Linked DNA regions of Homo sapiens: regions 1, 3, 4 and 5 are each linked to region 2. The links are contacts of gene promoters, found by promoter capture Hi-C in human tissues and cell types (Jung and others, 2019). All regions are on one chromosome and are shown on one strand. Each heading gives the region's core, a stretch centred on a gene start or on the middle of the fragment in contact. The rest is flanking DNA. Distances are from core to core; before and after follow the strand shown. Region 1 overlaps RSU1 (Ras suppressor protein 1). Region 2 holds the start of C1QL3 (complement C1q like 3). Region 3 has its middle 130 kb from the start of LINC02654. Region 4 has its middle 87 kb from the start of LINC02654. Region 5 has its middle 180 kb from the start of MINDY3.

Evidence for each region. Contacts are between HindIII fragments. The study calls those that stand out against the background at their distance.
Region 1: a contact is called between a fragment that was not itself captured here and the fragment with the promoter of C1QL3 in region 2, in 3 of the 25 tissues and cell types used here (H1 embryonic stem cells, heart left ventricle and mesendoderm cells).
Region 3: a fragment that was not itself captured here is called in contact with the fragment with the promoter of C1QL3 in region 2 in 2 of the 25 tissues and cell types used here (heart right ventricle and hippocampus).
Region 4: a contact is called between a fragment that was not itself captured here and the fragment with the promoter of C1QL3 in region 2, in 2 of the 25 tissues and cell types used here (H1 embryonic stem cells and lymphoblastoid cells).
Region 5: a fragment that was not itself captured here is called in contact with the fragment with the promoter of C1QL3 in region 2 in 1 of the 25 tissues and cell types used here (aorta).

The regions. Positions count from the first base shown.
Region 1 is chr10:16,794,061-16,796,760 of GRCh38, reverse strand. The region is part of intron 2 of RSU1 (Ras suppressor protein 1); the gene reads left to right. Among named protein-coding and RNA genes, the nearest start is that of RSU1, 22 kb to the left of the region's middle. RefSeq lists enhancers at 805-864, 1,075-1,294. The HindIII fragment of the contact is 4,697 bases long and covers 1-2,700 here.
Region 2 is chr10:16,520,593-16,523,292 of GRCh38, reverse strand. It overlaps C1QL3 (complement C1q like 3), which reads left to right and starts at 1,414. Exons shown (of 2, transcript NM_001010908.2): 1 at 1,414-2,700. The coding sequence starts at 2,228. RefSeq lists silencers at 1,474-1,703, 1,974-2,193, 2,504-2,563. The HindIII fragment of the contact is 8,174 bases long and covers 1-2,700 here.
Region 3 is chr10:16,143,943-16,146,642 of GRCh38, reverse strand. No RefSeq gene overlaps it. Among named protein-coding and RNA genes, the nearest start is that of LINC02654, 130 kb to the left of the region's middle. The HindIII fragment of the contact is 6,202 bases long and covers 1-2,700 here.
Region 4 is chr10:16,189,816-16,192,515 of GRCh38, reverse strand. No RefSeq gene overlaps it. Among named protein-coding and RNA genes, the nearest start is that of LINC02654, 87 kb to the left of the region's middle. The HindIII fragment of the contact is 5,472 bases long and covers 1-2,700 here.
Region 5 is chr10:16,040,765-16,043,480 of GRCh38, reverse strand. No RefSeq gene overlaps it. Among named protein-coding and RNA genes, the nearest start is that of MINDY3, 180 kb to the right of the region's middle. The HindIII fragment of the contact is 6,419 bases long and covers 1-2,716 here.

The sequences.
Region 1 (2,700 bases), core at 13-2,512, 270 kb before region 2:
CCTAAAATCTGCCATGCTGCCTCCACGTTTCCTGCACCTACACTTTTTCCTCCTTGGTACAGTGGGAAAAATAAGCTTCTCCTCAAATGAAGGATAATGTGTATGTAGTATCTGATGCAGACCAGGTACTCAAAAAATGATCATTGTGATGAACAGTTTGACAATTTCATACTTGTTGAGCAGTGGCATAGTCTGTTTTGAAGCTGCCATTGTGGGAGCTCTGATAAGAGGGGGATTTAGGGGTGAAGAGTCTAATGGGCCTTTGGGGTGAGGAAAGAACAAGAGGGTGAGGGTTTGTGGGTGTCATTGATGGCAGATTTGTTTGCAGTGTTGAGAGAAAGGTGGAGGGAATGGACTGGAGCAGGACTGGGAGAAGAGACATCACACACAGTGAAGACGTAGCGAGGCCCTGGAGCAGATCAGAAGAAACACACCTAAGTTTGACTTAGGGGCTGATTGATGATCAATGTCAATCTAGGTGACTGGTTATAGGATTGGAGAAGGCAACACTTGGAGGCCAGGATAAGGGATGACATGTGGGGAGAGAATCAAAATCCAAGGTTAAAAATAATGGTTGAGCTGCCTACGAGACCAAATCATGTTTTGCCTTCGGGTAAGAGCAGGTGGCACACCATGGTCTTCTAATATTTAGTGACTGTTGAGGGACTTAGAACTCTTAGAGCTCCAAGAGTCATGTGGCTTTTGTACAGACAGCAGGTTTAGGATTCCAGCTCCTCCTGCTTGAAAAGAAGGTTTACTTTTCCCAGGGAAATGTGGGGCCAGGTTCAGGTGAGAAGTATGGGGGAAGGTTGAGGCGGACGCAGAGAGCTGCTGCTCAAGCGGAGAATGGAGAGTGATAGAGAAACGTCTGACATCAGCCCCTGGGAAGAGGGTGCCGGTGCCTCACCTGGGCGGCTTGTTTAGGGGTCCGGGGGGTTGAAGATACACCCAATTTTCTGAAATGCAAAGTGTGCACAGTTAATACTGCTCATGTCTTAACTTTGGCAAAAAAACAACCTGTGTACTTAAACTCCTTGTCTTTTGAACATCATAAAATGCCATGCAGTTGGCAAATTGTGGATGCAACCGGTGGCATATTTGTTTAGCCAGTAAGACAGTATCAGAATTAATCAGCTTCTTGTTTGGAAACAGCTTTTAGGGGGTTCTCTCTGCTTACTAGTTCTGAAATCACAGACAAGTTACATAACCTCTTGTGTCTCATTTTTCTCATCTAAAATTGAGAGGGAAGAAGAGACTACTATTGCCTTGTAGGGTTATCGTGAGAAATAGGTGAATTGATAAAGTTCTTAGAACTGTGCCAGTCATGTTTTAAGCATTTGGTAAGCATTAGCTATTGTTGTTTGTTATTACCTTATTTTTTTTTAATTTTTTTTTTTTTTTTTTTTTGAGATGGAGTCTCACTCTGTCGCCCAGGCTTGGGTGCAGTGGCGCGATCTCGGCTCACTGCAACCACTGCTTCCTGGGTTCAAGCAATTCTCCTGCCTCAGCCTCCCCAGTAGCTGGGATTACAGGCACCCACCATCACACTTGGCTAATTTTTGTATTTTTAGTAGAGATGGGGCTTCACCATGTTGGCCAGGCTGGTCTCGAACTCCTGACCTCAGGTGATCTGCCTGCCCCGGCCTCCCGAAGTGCTGGAAATACAGGCATGAGCCACCACGCCGGGACTGTTCTAACATTTTTGATTCTAGTGAACACATATGTAAAGTGCTCAGCACAACACAGTGATGTAGTGGTCATTACATAAATAATCTTTTTTCTCTCTTTTATTTGTTTCATTTTAAAGATGAGGAATTTGTGCTCCAGAACAATCCAGTGATTTTTCTCAGGATCTCATGGGATGACAGGGCAGGTCTCACCTGCTAGGAACTGTGCGTTCTTTGCTTTGCTTTTGTGTCTTATTTTATTCTAGATAGGAAGGAATTTTCCATTCAGGTTTATATTATTTTTATTATGGTTGGAATTGCTGTCATAAAGGACATTCCATCCAGGTGTCAATAATAATTTTCCAGTTTGCAAAGAAGAAGCTCAAGATTTAGAATCTGGAAACCTTGATTGTACTCTGTTCTGATTCTGCTGGCCCGTGGAATCTTAGAATACCTTTACTTCTCTGGCCCACTGTTTTCTTATCTGTAAATTGAGGAGCTTAAGTTGTTTGATTTCTAGAGTTCCTTTGGCTCCAACATTCTATAACCATGATTTCTAAAACTGCATAAGTTTTGTGTTACACAAATAAAATAGTTTATGCTAGAAAAATTAGTCAATACAAACAAGCTAAAAAGAAAAAAGAAGAGACAGAGGAGGAAGGTAGTTAGAAATAAAACAAAATGGACTCTGGTCCTTGAAGGTTTTATTAACCCTAAAAAAATTTTCAGGCACTTCCCTTTTAATGGGAGTTTCAAAGCACCTTAGTACTTTTATGGTACAAGTCTGCCTGTCAGAGTTCTCCAGAGAAACAGAATCCATAGGCAATATATATATGGAGATTTATTATGGAAATTGGCCCAGGTGATTATGGAGGCTAAGAAGTCACATGATGTGCTGTCTGCAAGCTGGAGAACCTGGACAGTTGGTAATGTAATTTAGTGCAAGGCCAAAGGCTGGAGAGTCATAGGAGGGGTGCGTGTCAGTGATGCAAGTCCCAGAATCTGAAGGCCCAGGAACCAGGAACTCTGATGT
Region 2 (2,700 bases), core at 165-2,664:
GAAACAGAGAAGAAAGAAAGAAAGAAAGAACTAAATTGGTGGGGTGGACTGGAGTAGGCTGGGGGGCGGGGAGATTGAGGCACAGGGAGGAAAGGAGAAGTCCATGCTGTGACACCCGCAGACAAGATCACAGGCTGCTGATCGTCACCCAGGATGTTACTGTTTGCTTGCTGTAGTCTTATTTGTTCCTGCTTTTCTCATTTCAGATTCTCACCCTGATGTAATAAGTCACCGTCTTCCCAGCCATCATCCTCGTATTGACAAGCAAATGTCACCCACGTTTGATTGACATCTGTTGCTCCTGAATGCAAAAGTATGATTTAGGATTCAATTCTACTTATTTATTTAAAGCCATTCTTGTGTGTCTTATGTATTTGTTGGTGGGGTAACTTGCCTGATATCTACCCTGGAGGCCTTCCAGTAATATGATAAACCATGCTGTTCCTTCTGCAGCTCACCCACTGAGAATGGGGGCTCTTCTTTCTTGTATTTCTCCTACTTCTCCCCTCCCTCAATGTATATTCGGGAAATCTGCTATGGAGCTTATAGAACTCTTTCCATATGCTAGGAAAAGACCTTGCCCAGCACTTGTGCAAAAGCTTCTTGCTTGATCTTTTGACGCCATTTTGACAAGTGGTTATTTCTTGTACATTTAGCGACTTTAAGTAAACGCAACTTCAGGGCCATTGGCGGTATCCCCCGAAAGACTGCTAGAACTGTAAGACTGTAAGCACAGTACGTATGTATGCACTCACCACGGTGCAGCATTTGTAAAAAGGACCAACCCCCTCCTCCCCCAGAGGCGGTGGACATGTTCATTTAAAATCATTCACAAATGTTCTTTGGCTTTTCAACATACCTCACTGTTCTTGGGGCAACATCTTATTCATTTACAAGGCAGAGGAGGAAAACCATCAGGTTAAAAGAAAATCACATCTACCATCTGGAAAATTCTAAAAGGCCCTCCTTCTGTTAACAGTGGCATTTTGAAAACACCTGAAGCACTGATTGTAGAGGAGCTAGCAAAGAAACTGTCAACTCAGCCACCCTCCTTTCAACCTTCACCTCCACCCTCCAACTGGGGCTGCTGGCAGTGGGGAAATCGGGGATTTAGGTGTGACCCTTGAGCTCTGAAAGCTGTCGCACAGCTGTCTCCCTTCCCCAGGTGGGTCCAGCAGGACCTGCCATCGCTTGGTTCAGCAAGGGAGTATTCAGAATCTCACTGTTCATCCATGTGCAGAGAGAGAAAAAAAGAGAGGCCGAAAAAAAAAAAAAAATCCCACATTGTCAGAGTAATGCCAAACTCTCTCTGAGTGGGATGAGCAGAGCAGATGCTGCAATGAGATGCCAAAGCGGCTCCCCTTCCTCTGTGCCTTGGGTGCCTATAAATTGCTCCGGCGCGCGTTTGTCAGCCTCCTCTTCTCCTGGCAGGTGGTACCCAGGCAGAATTCTGCCTTCAGTCTCTCTCTCGCTCCGCTCCCGGCCGTGAGGCGCTCGCCGCTGCTCGCTCGCTCCTCCGCCCCAGCTCTGAGCCTCGCCGTGCCGACCGTGCCCGCCGCCGCCGCCGCTGGGCGCACCCGGGGGACGCCCGGGCCCACGCGGGGCTTTGGGGTGCGCGTCTATTCGAGTTGTGGTGGTGGCAAAGGAGGAAGAGAGAAAGGAGGCAATAAAAAAAAAAGGCAGCGGACGGGCGAACTGAGCGAGCGAAAGAAGAGGAGGAGGAGGCAGAAAAAGGCAACTTCAGACGGAAAGTTGGTGCGAACAGGCGCAGTCTGCAAAAACGGAAAAGTCGATCGCAGGCGGCGGCGGCATAAAAGTGTGAGCTGCCCGGGCGAGCTCAGGAGGCGGCGGCTGGCTCTGCCCTCCCGGTGGCCGCGCCGGCGCCGGCTGCAGCCACAGGTGCGAAGGAGCTCGCGGGGGGCGAGGGCGCCCCGCGCACCCCTCCCCCGGCCCCCACCCCGGGCTCGGGACTTCGGCTCAAGTCACTGGGCGCCCGCGCTCCCTCCCCAGCCGCAGCCTCCGCGGGGGGAGCAGGAGTCGGCAGCAGCGGCCGGCGCACGCACGCCCAGGGGAGTTGGGGTTCGCAGGGGGTTGTTTTCGGCTCTGAAGAGGTCCCCGCCCAACCTTCAAAATTCTGTCCAAAAGCAGACAAGAGGATCGCCCCGCGCTGAGCCGGCTGGTGGGCAGCAGGAGGCGCCTGATCGCCGCCGGGGCGCTGGGGGTGGTGATGGTGCTGCTGCTGGTGATCCTCATCCCGGTGCTGGTGAGCTCGGCCGGCACGTCGGCGCACTACGAGATGCTGGGCACCTGCCGCATGGTCTGCGACCCCTACGGGGGCACCAAGGCGCCCAGCACCGCTGCCACGCCCGACCGCGGCCTCATGCAGTCCCTGCCCACCTTCATCCAGGGCCCCAAAGGCGAGGCCGGCAGGCCCGGGAAGGCGGGTCCGCGCGGGCCCCCCGGAGAGCCCGGGCCACCCGGCCCCATGGGGCCCCCGGGCGAGAAGGGCGAGCCGGGCCGCCAAGGCCTGCCGGGCCCGCCCGGGGCGCCCGGCCTGAACGCGGCCGGGGCCATCAGCGCCGCCACCTACAGCACGGTGCCCAAGATCGCCTTCTACGCCGGCCTCAAGCGGCAGCATGAAGGCTACGAGGTGCTCAAGTTCGACGACGTGGTCACCAACCTCGGAAACCACTACGACCC
Region 3 (2,700 bases), core at 193-2,692, 380 kb after region 2:
TAATGACATTGCTGGGTCAAATGGTAATTCTGTTTTAAGTTCTTTGAGAAATCTTCAAACTGCTTTCCACAGTGGCTGAACTAATTTACATTCTCACCCGCATTGCATGTGATTCAACTCCTCTTCCTTACCCCTCCCTAACTCCTATTTTCCCACAAATGGTTACAATTATTCCATGCTATATAAACCCCTAGTTTTAGTTGGTTATAAGGTGGATTTGAGACTGATCTCCTATTTCTTCAGCTGCAGCACCAGAATAAAGCCTTCTTCCCTGGCAATACTCATTGTCTCAGTGATTGGCTTTCTGTGCAGCAAACAGCAGGACGTAGACCAAAACCCTAGCATTTTGGTAACAAGGGGGAGAGGAGGTACCTGGGAACTCCCTGTACTTTGTGTGCAGTATTTCTACAGTCCTACAACTGCTCTAAAAGTAAGGCCTATTAACACTTTAAAAATAAGTTGCATGACTAGTAGAACAAGTTGAATTGTTTTCATGGTCCAACTTCAAAACATAAGATACATTGACCAATGGATATCTTTCAGGGAGCTGAAGTAAGTGAGCTGAAGTACTGATGTACTTGTATCCTAGTCATTTGAATGAAGGAACAGCTCCTAAAAGTGTCTATCTTAAAGCAGAATTGAGACTTGGGACAAGGAATCTGGCTCGAATATGATTTCCTGCAATATCCTACCTTTATTTCTGTCTGCTACATGAGTAATCACTTAACTAATTACATTAACATTTTTTTCATCGTTGCATTTGGTGAAAAATTTTGGAACTTAAATATGATTATTATACCTTTTGTGATCTGGTAGTATCACTGAAAAAAGTCCGAATTAAGAAAATCTATTATTAATCTGCAAGGAAGTGCTACTGTGCCAATAACAATGTACTCTCTTGCCTGTACACCCAAGAAGTCAACCTGTTCACATCTCAAAATAGTAAAAATATTCACACACAGCTGTCAGCATAAACAAAACTGTGCTCTCTGCATCGCATGGAGAGTGTTAGTAAAAACTAAAAAACGAGCACGGCTGAGCCTGTCTTTACCCAGGGCAAAAAGCTACCCTTTGTGTGTGAATCAGCAGTATACAGAATGTCTGAACAACATGAAACAAAAATGTATGGCTAAGAGATTGCAGTTGAAACTAAAAGTGCTGAGAAGTTCCTATTTGAATTTGGTTTGATTGTAAAATATATGGTACTGGCACTCTACTAAGAATAACAAACCCCTAAATATTGGGAGGGTGGGTTGAGGGCAGGAGGAAATAATCTAATCTAGGGATGATATGATAGGATAATATTTAAAAGTTCACATGAAGTAAATTTTTAGAGATATAAGTTATTAAATGCTTCCGTGCATCATCAAAGTCTGCATAAGAGCACTTGAGCTGTACCTTTTGATAAATGTATTATAGATGAGGACTGTCAGAATCCTTGAAAGTCATGAACCACAAATCGGTGTCCTCCTTAACACACTCCCGTCGTCTCTGATAAAGCTCAGGGCAATTGAGAAGCGGTAGCATGGAGAGACCATTGGTCAACCATCAGCAAATATGCATACTGGCTCCATCCACACCCATCCTCAATTAGTCGTATAGCCTTGAACAAGTCATTTGGATTTTCGGAGATTCAATAGATTCATCCCTAAAGTGGTGACAATTATTATACTAATCAAATGAAATAATGAATGGAATATGAGTTACTGTTCTTAAACACCTACAAGACTGCCTGGAGATAAATCAACTTTGTTTTTTGTCGATGGCCACATAGGTGAAGTTGTGGGTATTAGTTTTTAAGAAAAAGTAATTGCAGGGGGAAGGAACGAGTGATGAAGAGATGGAACATAGGAAACTTTTTCGGGCAGCGACACTGTTCTATATAATGTGTAATCATAGATACATGACATTTGTCAAAATCCACAGAAGCACACAACAAAAAGAGTCGCCCTTCATATGAACTGTGGGGTTTAGTTAATAATTATGTCTCAGAATTGGCATATCAGCTGTAACAAGGTAACCCACTAATGCAGGCTGTTAACATAGGGGGAGGGAGGGATGGATATGGGCTATGGGAACTCTCTGTACATTCTGCACAATTTTTCTGTAAACCTAAAACCACTCTAAAAATTGCACAAACTTAAAAACTTGAATTCATGTCTGTCAAAAAGAGAATGAGGATGCAAGGAGGAAGGGGAGGATAGGAAGGAAAGATAAATCAGAGAGTGAAAGGAAGAAAAAGCAGGACAACAGCTGGATAAAGAGACAGCTGCCAAACCGGAGGGGTGAAAAATGGGATAGGTAGAAGAAAAAGCCAAAGATGAAAGGGGAGAGTGCAAAAGAGGAAAACTAAGTAAGAGGAAGGGAGAAGGAGTCAGAAGCAGATTGAGTGCCAGCTGGCCATCACACTTAGGTCTAGCTTATGGCTGGGTGTGTGTGACCACTATTGCCTTAAAACCCCATTTTGTCTATTCTAGAGCAGAGTGATTCAACTTGGGGACAGCTCCCCACACAGGTATTCAGGGACTTTCTGTGGGATTCACTGCTTAGGGTGATTTTAAAGTTAATGATCTCAAAGTTACTGATTTTCAGGTCTTCAAGTTCACTTTTCCTATATTCCCTTTTCTCACAACCTTCTTGGAATCCATAAAAGAAAGCCATCCTCTTCCCCATCCTGATGCTTCCCGCGCTGCATTTCTT
Region 4 (2,700 bases), core at 48-2,547, 330 kb after region 2:
GCCCTGCCCCAGTTTAAGGCCTTCAGACTCAAACTGAGTAACACTACCAGCCTTCCTGGTTCTCCAAGGTTGCAGATTGCAGAGTGTGGGACCTGTTGGCTTCCATAATCATCTGAGCCAATTACCATAATAAACCCATACCCCTGGATTCTCCTCTACTTAAGGGTTATAGCCCCGTAAGTCATGTTTATTGTGGAAATGTGAAAATGCATTTAATACACCTAACCTACCTACCATCATAGCCTACCTTAAACATTCTCAGAACATTTATATTAGCCTATAGTTGGGCAAAGCATCTAACACAAAGCCTATTTTATAACAATCTGTTAAATATCTCATGTAATATATTGAATATTTTATTAAAATATACCACTTTTATACCATCAGTAAGTTGAAAAATCGTAAGTGAAACCATCATAAGTTGGTGACTGTATGTCTGTGTATATATATATATGTGTGTGTGTGTGTGTGTGCACATAGATACCTATCTATAGATCTCTACATAGGTTCTGTTTCTTTGGAGAAACCTAACTAATACAGATTTTGGTACTGAGAGTGTTTATAGAGCAATCAAATTTTAATAATGACTTTCTTAATTAGATCTAGGGTTTCTGGAATTGGCTTTCACATCTGATTAGATTTAAAGGCAATAGTGATGCTATTTCCAGTGGTAAAGAGAGCACTGATCGTCTAAGCCATCATCTGTTTATAGAGACATGCATATTATCTGCACTGGATACTCATAATTAACTACTTACAAGAAGCAAGGAGTTTGGTGACTCTGTATATGATTGATACTTTTGGACATTTTTTGAATACTAAGGAACATAATGATGTCAGATGGTTGTTTCTAATGTTATTGGAAAAAGTGTTGAAATAAATGAATGAACTCAAGGATTTGAATTCCCAGCTCAAGAGACTCATAAATGAACCTGGGCAACGTGGCAAAACCCCGTCTCTACTAAAAATACAAAAATTAATCGGGTTTGATGGTACATGCCTGTAGCCCCAGTCACTCGGAAGCCTGAGGCATAAGAATTGCTTGAACCTGGGAGGTGGAGGTTTTAGTGAGCCGAAATTGCACCATAGCACTCCAGCCTAGGTGACACAGCAAGAGTCTGTGTCAAAAAAAAAAAAAAAAAAAAGAGAGAGTGAGAGAAAGAGACCCATAAATGACCTAAGAGTTTCTAAGTGTCCTCTGAAGGAGGGCATTATCACTTGTAGCCACAGGGTGGAAATTGCTGAAAATTAAGAACTTCGTCCTGCAATTGGCTGAATTTTAATGCGAGATGAAGTCCCAGCTCTACAGGGTGACTGCTGTTAAAGTGAGGGCAACTTATTGGGGAAAAAATGTAAGTTGGGATGGGGGCCTGTGGAAATACCCTGACGCAGCTGGGGACACTAAGCCCCTGAATTATGATGAATCTTCTTTGACATTGAAAGCAGTCTCCCCACACCAATGGAAGTGGCTGCCCTACCCCAGGTGGAATTGGGTCCCCGCTACCACAGTGGTATCAGCTTTTCCGCCACCATCTGAGAGTACTAATACTGAGGAAAAGGGTAATGGCCTCCCCTGAGGCAGCTGCCACGTAAGATAATGCTGATTATCCTCAGTATCCACCCTGCTACCGCTCTTTTCTTCTAGACTTGTAACAAGACTCAAGTCTCAGCAGACCCCTAAAGATAAGGTACAAAATATGACTTATGCGGAGATGTACTACATGCCAAAAGAACTACTTGAATTCTTGAATTTTCTTTATCTTTTTTTTTTTTTTGAGATGGAGTCTCGCTTTGTTGCGCGGGCTGGGGTGCAGTGGTGCAATCTCAGCTCACCAACCTCCACCTCCCAGGTTCAAGCCATTCTCCTGCCTCAGCTTCCTGAGAAACTGGGTTTACAGGTGCACACTACCACATCTGGCTAATTTTTGTATTTTGAGTACAGATGGGGTTTCTCCATGTCAGCCAGGCTGGTTTTGAACTCCTGAACCTCGTGATCCACCCTTCTCAGCCTCCCACAGTGTTGGGATTACAGGCGTGAGCCACCGCGCTCAGCTTAACTACTTGAATTTTCTAATTCACACAAGCAAAAATCTGGGGGACATACATAGAATAGATATTAAGGGTATAGGGTAATGGTGGAAGGAACATAAAGTTGAATTGGGCTGAATTTATTGATATGGACTCACTAAGAAGAGATTCTGCATTTAATGTTCCAGTTCAGGGAGTTAGAAAGGGCTCTTTCAGTTTGTTTGGTTTATTGCTGAAACATGGATCAAAAGATGGCCCAGTATGAGCGAATTAAAAACGTTGGATCTCCCTTGATTTAATATGGAGGAAGAGATTCAAAGGCTTAGAGACACCGGAATGTTAAATTGGATTTATCATTGAAGACCTACTTACCACCCACATGGGCAGGGTCTAGAAGGCATACCATTTACCAATACTTTCAGAAATAAATTTGTGAGGGGAGCCCTAGTATCCTTGAAGAGTTCCATGATTGCTGTTCTCTGTAGGTCAGACATTTCAGTGGTAACCCCAGGTTCTTGCACTCTCCCAGGATAGAAATCAAAAGAGATCACTGAACACAAGCAGCAAACATTAAGTTTAAGTTTATTCCACCTTGTGCACAAGGGAGCTAGCCCTGAGAAAGGAAAAACAAGTGAACTGTTCCCCAAGGACAGTATGTGAGTTAGTTTTATA
Region 5 (2,716 bases), core at 213-2,712, 480 kb after region 2:
GTCAACACTTTCACATACATTTTCTCCTTAAATTCTCTAGATATCGCTGGGACGTTTGATTGTATTTTTGTCATAGATGAGGAAACCGAGGCTTCCAGAAATAACTTGCCCAAGATTATGTTGTAAATAACAGTAGGGCTGCGATTCAGACCCAGGTCATCTGACTTCAGAGTCCAAGCCCTTTCTAGTATGCTAAGTAGTGATATTGCCTACAGTTTGTTCCATGTAAGGATAGAGGTGATGTCAGCTCTAAGCCATCTTATGCCCTAAATCATCTTAGAACCAGTCATCTAAACGGTAAATGAAGCCCCATTTGTTGATGTTAGAATACAACAAGATGATCTTTTTGAAAGAAAGATGGTGAATTCCACTTTGGACATGTGGACCATTTAAGAGGAGACGTTCAGTTGACATTGGATGTAGGGTCTAGAGAACGAGAAAGAAAAGTGGGCTGTGATATGGATCTTGAAAACTCTAGGTATAGATGGTAATTAAAACTATTGGAATGGAAGAGTCTTCTCTCAGCAAGGATATAGCTGTAACTTGAATGATGACATGACAGTGTTAAAAAAAAGTCAATCCTACTTATATTTAGCTTGTAGCTTTGTAACTACTATCATATCAGAGAAAAAAAGAAAGGAATGCCATATTCTTGAAGTACTACCCAGTGAACAACAAAATTTTTTTGTTGTAGTTTGCTACATGTTATATAGTGATAAAACATGACATTTAGACTTAAGCACTTTAAATAGTCCCTTGGGCTATATTCAGGGCACAGAACAGCTGTATGGGTAATTAAATAAAGCTAATTTAAATAAATTAGATTTACCAGAAAATCACTCAAAGTTTGCATTCATGAAAGTTTTTTTATGCAAAAAGTTGTTAATGCTATTTCTTCAAACTACATACCTTGAAAAATGGTGGGCTCTGGGACAAGAAATACATCTTAAAGTAGTAAAAATGAAAAGATTTTTCTCCTGATTTCATCCTGAAGGTGTAATCTTACTGATATTTTACACAGATGAATTGCAAGAGAAAGTTTTCAACATAATTGTCACTGAAGCATCAAGCAAAACGATAAAATAGAATAAAATATGCTTCTTTTAGTTTCTTTCACTGCATATATTTTACATACTACACATGCATCTTAGAAATGACATTACCCTTATTTTCAACAAAAGCTACCTCCTGAATATACTTTTATATCAGAATTTATATGAGAACTTATATTCTAGAAATTGGTCAGTTGTTACCTTTGTTTCTGGGCTTGAAAAGGGGGATGTTGATTTAGCAGTGCTAAGAATTTTTGGAATAAAAATGAGCCTATAACTACTTTTAATGTTCCTGACTGCAGGGCTGTTAGAATGTAATCATCAAAGGCTAGGAAATTGTTTTCATCAAAAAGCTGTAAGGAATATTTCTGGGAACCAAGGTGAATTAAGGTTTGACCTTTTAAAATATTGTCTTTCTTGACATCCTCTCTCACAGATACTTGTTTTCAGGTTTCAGGAATGAAGCGCATTGATCCTGTTCCTAGAGATCAGTCATAGGGGTAAACAGAAGGCTCTCTGATTTATGACTAACCTGCTGATAGTTCCTTGGAGAGGTCCACCATGCTCAGATTGAGAACCGTTTGAGGAACCGGGAATTCAGACTTTGCAAGGGAAACTGCCCGATTCAGTCCCCATTTCAGAAATGAAAGCTACTGCAATTTGAAATTGATTAGAGCCCAATATAAAGAAATCAAATACCTAGCCAATCCATAATAAAGAAATTTTTTTCTGGCCTTATGTATGACTAATCTCATTTCTTTTAAAAATGGGCATAGTGCAAGTGTTTAAAAATGCACTTGAATCTGAAGATGGAGAGGTACATTCCGGCTATTTCACTTAATCCTATTCTAGAACCAGTAGTCAGGGGAAAACTTAAGCCACCGAAGAGCTTCAAGAAAAATGTTTCAAAACAACTGAATGAATGGTCTATCATCAGCTATCAGTGTGATTTCACAGCAACTGTACGAAAAGACAATATTGTGTTCTATGTCTTTGTTAGTCATATTAAGTGTCATGGATATAAAATAAAGCAAATGCAGTAATTACATACAATATATTAATCAAATATCATTTCTCAATGCAAGTCATCCAAATTGAGGTTTATAAAAAAGTTCTTTATTTTAGGAAGTACATATCACATTTACATACCATATGCTTGTATGTCAGAAAGCGAGATGTCTCATTTGATTTGAATAAAATAGATATATATCAAATTATATATATATAATATAGATTTATATATATAATACATATAAATACTTTGTGTATATAGACTCTTGCCCTGAGCACATTTGTATTAAATAAAAATTTTTCCAAAAGTTGGAATAACATATTTAGTTTTTGTTTTCTCTTTTTTTTGAGACAAAGTCTTGCTCTGTCGCCCAGGCTGGAGTGCAGTGGCACGCTCTCAGCTCACTGCAACCTCCGCCTCCTGGGTTCAAGCAATTCTCCTGCCTCAGCCTCCTGAGTAGCTGGGATTACAGGCGCCTGCCACCATGCCCAGCTAATTTTTGTATTTTTAGTAGAAACGAGGTTTCACCATGTTGGTCAGGCTGGTCTCGAACTCCTGAGCTAGTGATCCTCCCACCTCGGCCTCCCAAAGTGCTGGGATTACAGGCATGAGCCACCACTCTCGGCCTGCTTTCTCTTTTAATCAGAGCACA